Linked DNA regions of Homo sapiens: region 1 is linked to region 2. Evidence: promoter capture Hi-C in 16 types of primary human blood cells and fetal thymus (Javierre and others, 2016). All regions are on one chromosome and are shown on one strand. Each heading gives the region's core, a stretch centred on a gene start or on the middle of the fragment in contact. The rest is flanking DNA. Distances are from core to core; before and after follow the strand shown.

Region 1 (3,169 bases), core at 418-2,917, 270 kb after region 2:
TAAACCTAAAGCCTTAGTTCAGTCTTTCATTATTTCTTTCCAATTTAAAGCACTCAAGACAATTTCGTACATGCAGCACTTTTCATAAATTAGGCTGTAAATTATATTTGTTATTTAAACCTGTAAACCTCAAATCCTTTTTGGAACAAACTATTTGTTTTAAAAAAAGTAATGCATATTTGGAAATCATATTTGAAGGTTAGTAAAAATTTTGATGTGTATGTTTATAATTCATAACTACATTATTTGCATGACCTTGAAAATGATATTGACCCTTCCTCTCAGAGTCTCAGATTTGCTGTATTTAAAATGAAGAGTTGAGTTTAGGATTTTAAAGAAACCCAACTGGAACAACTCTTGGATTATTAAGTTCCCTTCTAGATCTTAAATTTTATGATTTTATGACCCATATCTCACAATACCCAAGACATTTCTTTTGTGTTATTTTTGAAGTATCGTACAAGTGGTTTTGAGGCATATGTTAAAATATAGTAATTTTAAAATGATGGCACAAATCATATTTTGTAGATGGTCATAAACCTCAGTAAGATTTATAAAGCCTTAGCTAGAAGAGGACTCCAAAGTGCCCAACCATGCTAATAATCACTGCTACTCTCTTTCTATTTTTTGTCTCTTGACCTATAGGAAGCAGTATCTTTATTCTTCAAAACCAAACACATACTTTTATAGCAAACCTGGTAAAATATAAGCCAGGTCATGCACTCCTTTGCTCAAAATCCCCCAGTGGCTCCCCTTTTCACTCTCAAAGCTGAAATTAAAGTTCTAGGGCTCCTTCTGGTCCCCACAGCACATTGCTGTGGATAAGACATGGGCACTCCTTGCTCTAGGTGGAAGCAGCCCTAAACTAGGGTATGTGGCCGGGGGAGTGGAGCACAGGCTAGATTTCAGCCTCGATTCACTTGATTGCTTAGGTACTTTGTCCACGGCACAACTGTTTACAGAAGCCCTGAAGAGTCTCTCTAATGCCTTAAATGACCTTCCCTTGCTCCCTCACTTTTTCCTTACCTGACCTCACTTCCTACTCCTCTTCTCACTCCTCTGCAGTCACACTGGCCTCCTTGCCATTCTTGGAGCACCAGGCATGCCCATGCCTCAGGGCATTTGCACGTGCTGTTCTCCACCAGGTACTTCCTTCTAGATAGCCACAGGAATTGCTTCTTCACCTCCTTTCAGCTCTTGACTCAAACACCATCCTCTTAGTGAAACTTAAGCCCAGTCAGCTTGTCTAAAATTACAATGCATCCTCTCACCTTATTTTCTTTCCCTGCTCTATTTTTCTTCATATCAGCCATCACCATCTATTCATAAAGCTTTATTTATTTATCATGTTTGTGTCTCCCCAGTTAGAATTTAAGTTTCATGATGGCCTGGATTTTGGGGAGCCTGTTTTGTTTATTCCTTTATTCCCAGAGACTGGAATAGTGCCAGGTATATAGGGGGTGTCCAGGGTGTACATAGGATACTCAATGCATATTTATTGAATAAAGGAATAAATAGAGGACAGGTGTGGTGGCTCATGCCTGTGATCCTAGCACTTTGGAAGGCTGAGGCAGTAGGAGTGCTTGAGCCCAGGCATTTGAGATCATCCGGGGAAACACAGTGAGACTCGTATCTGCAAAATATAAAAAAAAGTAACTGGGTTCAGTGGTGGGCACCTGTAGTCCCAGCTACTGAGGTGGGAAGATCACTTGAGCCCAGGAGATCGAGGCTGCAGTGAGCCACGATCATGCCACTGCACTCCAGCCTGGGTGACAGAGCGAGAACCTGTCTTAAAAAAAAGAATAAATATTTGCTGAATGAATGCATGAATAAATGAATGAATAACGGCACACATTACATCGTATTGTGACGGTTTGTTCCTTGAGGACAGGAATTGCATCTTACTCAAGTTCACATGTCACCACCCACTTCCCAGACTAGCAGACTTTATGTCTTAGTGAACACTCACTGAATACATGTATGGAACAAGTTATACCTTTAACCAAAGCTTCTCTCTTCAAAGCTGAAACAATTGAACGAAACTGTGGGTGAGTTTTATCTCCCAGGGAAAGAGCATACGCAGAAATGGCCAATGTAAAGGTGCTCTGGGCTGGCAGTGTATTTTCAAGCAGAAAGTTGTCAGCTTTAATTAGAGCTGTGTCGATTTTCTGGAAACAAGAGAAGATACTTCAGTTTCTATGTCAAGCAACCACCTATCAATTGATATGAACTACCCTCAGATCCCACTATCCTGGAGCAAGCAATATGGGGGTGAAAAGAGGACTGACCTAATGGAAATGGATGGCTTCTCAGTGAAGCAAATCCCTCCGAGAGAAGGAGCAGAGCATAATCTTGGAAGGGACAATGAGGTTGTCCAAATCAGGTTAAGCTTTTTGCCTCTGAATTCTCACTTTCCTTTTAGAGGTTTTGTGCCTTTAGTTTCTGAGTACACCGTCAGACCTAGCCTCCAGGAAGAAAAGGCACCGAGCATAGACACAATTTCTTTTTTTTTCTTTTTTTTTGAGACGGAGTCTCGCTCTGTCGCCCAGGCTGGAGTGCAGTGCTGCGATCTCGGCTCACTGCAAGCTCCGCCTCCCAGGTTCACGCCATTCTCCTGCCTCAGCCTCCGGAGTAGCTGGGACTACAGGCGCCCCGCCACCACGCCCGGCTAATTTTTTTTTTTTGTATTTTTGGTAGAGACGGGGTTTCACCGTGTTCGCCAGGATGGTCTCAATCTCCTGACCTTGTGATCCGCCCGCCTCGGCCTCCCAAGTGCTGGGATTACAGGCGTGAGCCACTGCACCCGGCCCATAGACACAACTTTTATTGTTCCCTCTCAGCGTAGTTGCAACAGGCACACAGGTTCAAAAGGAGTTACACTTAAAAAAATAAATAAATAAAACAATAAGTAGCAGAAAGAAACCCTAACTGCCACAGTACTTTTAGATCCTAAGAATGCCTGGGTAAATAGTCCCGATCACTAGTCCTGACGCCACCAAAATGGTTGTGTTGGGCAAGTGGGCCAGCAGAAAGCCTGCTGCGATGCTGCTAACATCCTGCCTGCCTCCTCTCCCAGCTCCACATGCATCTCTCACCCATGTGGCCACTAGGTGCCTGGGAACTAGTCTTCATTGATTATTTTGTCTTGTTAAGCTTCTGAAACAAACTG
Region 2 (3,307 bases), core at 569-3,068:
CATGTGGGAAAATTCTCTACACACTCAATTATAGTCCAAAGTCCATACCTGACTCCACAGTAAATCACTAAGCCTAAGATTTAGGTCAGAGACCCAGCTAGACAAAGGATTTGGACAAACCTCCACCCCAACTCAAAGCAAGACAATTCAGAAACTTTTGTCCAAACGTTCTGACAAAGTAGGCTTTTGTTTTGTTTTGTTTTAGTCCTAGGCCCACTTAAGATTTAAACGGGGAAAGAATACGAGTTGTCTTTAACTTTGCTTGAAGACTTCAGCAAGAAAAGCCTTTTCTACGTGGGCTCAAACAGAAATTGGCATATATCAGCATCAGCAAAGTTGAACATCCTGGCTTAAGGAGACAAAAATAGGCATCCTTGCTTAAATGGTGTATTTGGCCAAACATGTTGACCTTATAATTGTGGAAGAAAAAAATGGTGCGAGGAAGAGATTTAACCTAATTTGTAAATGTGCTCAGCCTAGATACACACCTGTCCCAAATGACCTACTGAATCCACTTATTTGCAGGGACAACATGGATTACAATGCCTTTTTTGTTTTTATTTTTTGCCCTCAAGTGGTCCATACTACTGTTTGTAAACAAAATCCTCTCACTACCTCTCTTCCACCTGTCATACACACACATCTGATATTTACATAAACAAGAAGAAATGAACAGGGAAACTGGAGCTTTGGGAGGAATTCCTTACCCTCAGCTTTTGACCCAGTGGTTGAAGGAGGTACTATGCGGGCTTTCAAACTTCCCCAAATAACCCAGGCAGAGAGGCTGGGTGCGCGAACCCAACCCAAAAGTTTGCGCCCATTCTGGTCTCTGAAAAAGGCCAGAAAGCCCTGTTGGGAAGAAGATGAGATGCCTTCCACCCAGCAGCCACCCCCTCCCGAGGGAGCACAGCCCACGGGGGACAAAAGACTTTCCAGATTGATCGGGGGCGGGAGGGAGACTAGCTGGACCTGGGATCCCCCCTCGGGAGCCGGAACCTGGGGTGTCTTTGGGGTAACAAACGATAAATTATAGGCAAGAGCCCAACCCTAGATTGCCGGGGCTGAGGTGAGGACGGGTCCTGCCCGAGAGGGAGCGCCGGACTCACCTGGAGGAGGCGAAGAGGGGGCCTCGGTGGCAGGTGGGGTGGGGAGGACGCTGCTGTTGCTGCTGCTGGGGAGATCGGGGGTCGGGGTCCGGGGAGTCGTGGGCGCCGGTACGGTGGTCGCTACAGGGGTGGTCGGCGCCGGGCCAGTGGTCGTCGAAAGGGTGGTCGGCGCGGGTCTGGTCGGCGCCTGAGAGGTGGTCGAAGTGCGTTCCGCCGCCGGAGGGGTGGTCGGCGAGGGGCCGAGCGGCGCCTGAAAGGTGGTGGAAGAGGGTCCAGCAGTCGCCCAAAGAGGGGTGGTCTCCGGGGACTGGGCTGGAGAAGTCGCAGCCAGGGGTCGGTGGACGGTGGCGCGCGGGGGCCCGGTCCTCGGGGCCTGGGCCGTGGGAGCCGTCGCCCTAGGGAAGGGGTGGCTGGGCTCGCCCCGCAACCCGGGGCCCGGCGACGCGTCCACCTGCCCCGCGGCCCCGCCGCCACCGGTGACATTCCCCGCCGAGGCGGCTGAGGCGACGGCGGCGGCGGCGGCGGCGGCGGCGCAGCACAACAGGGCGAGGCCGCCCAGGCTCGGCAGGCTCCTCATGGCGCGCTCGGCTCCGCCATTCATTCATTCAGCCAGTCGGTTGGTCAGTCATCTTCTCCTCGTTGCAATCCGACCAAGGAAGCCTCCGCAACCGCCGCCGCCACCGCCACCGGGCGCACCATCGCCACCTCCCTCTGACAGGCGGCCGGCCCCGCGGGCGGGCCCCAGCGCGGAGGGAGCGACCGGACCGAGCGCGGACCGCCCGCCCTCCTCGATTGGCAGCCGCGCCTAACCAATGGGAAGCCACAGTCGCCCACGTGATCCGCCCGCTTCCCGGCCTCTTTGTAGCCCCGTAGGCCAATCAGAGGACGTCCAGGAGAGGGGGCGGTCCGTGAGGCGGGAGAAGGGTGGTGCGAGCCCAGCTCTAGCCCGCCGGGCTCGCGGCGGCCCCGGCTTTGTCTGCCCAAAGAGTGGGGCGCGGGCCTCGGGCACCGGGCGCCGCGGAGCAGACAAAGGATGCGCCCCGCGCGGCAGACGCCGGGCCTAGTCATCTGCTCCACCGGGCTGCGAGCACGAGCGGGGGGTGGAATCAGCACTCGGGAGCATCCCCGCCCTCCTGAACAATGGGGCGCCAGCGCCGCACCCCAGCTCGGGCGGGGACCGCGCGGGAACCCCGCGATGGGAGAGGGCAGCGGCAGCGACGATGTAGAGCTTGGCATGCCCTCTGCTGCTCCAGAGAGCCTGGTCGCAGCCTTGCGAGGTCTCTGCCGCCATTCCCATTTCAGAGATGGGGAAGCTGAGGCCCTTGCTGAGGGCCTCCCTGAACCGAGACCCACGCCCTCACCAGAAACCTGCTGTGGGCCAGGTGTTGTGCCAGACTGGACAAGGGGGCGGGACCGGGCGGTGGAGACCCCTGAGGGCAGAAGGTGCAAGCTTCCTGCGTGGAGGAGACAGGCTCGCAAGCACACTTACCTAAACCCCGGGAAGAATAGGATCAGACAGGGTTGAACCTCAACTTGATGTCTTTTGCTGAATGGTTTTGTGGCCTGAGCGCGGTTTTTTCACCACTAAAATGGAGATGATAGGACACCCCTCACCCCCCACCCCCCTCACAGAGCTGTTGTGAGAATTAAGTCATGGACGTAAAGGGCTTAGCCCAGAGCCTGGCCCACTGTTGTAACCCTCATTAATGCTAACTATTCTCAGCATTTGCGCCAGGGCAAGCCCAGGATTAGAAAGCAGCCCCAGGCCACAGCCCTTCAGTGCCCCCAGAGCCTCCGGCTGGTTGCAGGGGTTGGGGTGGGGCTAATAGCCGAGCTTGACCCTGGATGACACTAAACCCTGAATCAAGCTGGAATTCGGGCACGCAGCCTCGCATCATCCGCCCAGGATCCAGAGCTAGGTCAGGCGCTGCTGCTTCGGCTCAGCAGCTTCCAGAGGAAGCCAGGCAGGGCGGGTTTGTCATCTGATGGGGCTTAATTCAAGCCCCACTGCTAACCCAATCCCGGCCTCCCCTACGTGATGTTTGGCTTTGTGCATGGTTTCCCATTAGTCATTGGTCTTCAACCAGACCAGCAGGATGAGATTTATGTGTGAACCCGTGTATGTTAATTAAAGCATGCATTTATTTTCCTGCATGAGTAGTGGGTGGGGGAGGCTGTGTATGAATGCATAAACATGTTTG

What was found. The method cuts DNA at HindIII sites, captures the fragments that hold promoters and counts their contacts. A CHiCAGO score of 5 or more calls a contact.
Region 1: a contact is called between a fragment that was not itself captured here and the fragment with the promoter of MEGF9 in region 2, in 4 of 17 cell types (non-activated CD4 T cells, activated CD4 T cells, erythroblasts and 1 more). The highest score is 5.4, in non-activated CD4 T cells.

Annotation. Positions count from the first base shown.
Region 1 is chr9:120,978,087-120,981,255 of GRCh38, forward strand. C5 (complement C5) reads right to left here. Exons shown (of 41, transcript NM_001735.3): 28 at 1,997-2,168. Among named protein-coding and RNA genes, the nearest start is that of C5-OT1, 27 kb to the left of the region's middle. The HindIII fragment of the contact is 677 bases long and covers 1,330-2,006 here.
Region 2 is chr9:120,712,652-120,715,958 of GRCh38, forward strand. It overlaps MEGF9 (multiple EGF like domains 9), which reads right to left and starts at 1,819. Exons shown (of 6, transcript NM_001080497.3): 1 at 1,107-1,819. The coding sequence starts at 1,707. RefSeq lists a silencer at 1,507-2,356. The HindIII fragment of the contact is 2,825 bases long and covers 1-2,554 here.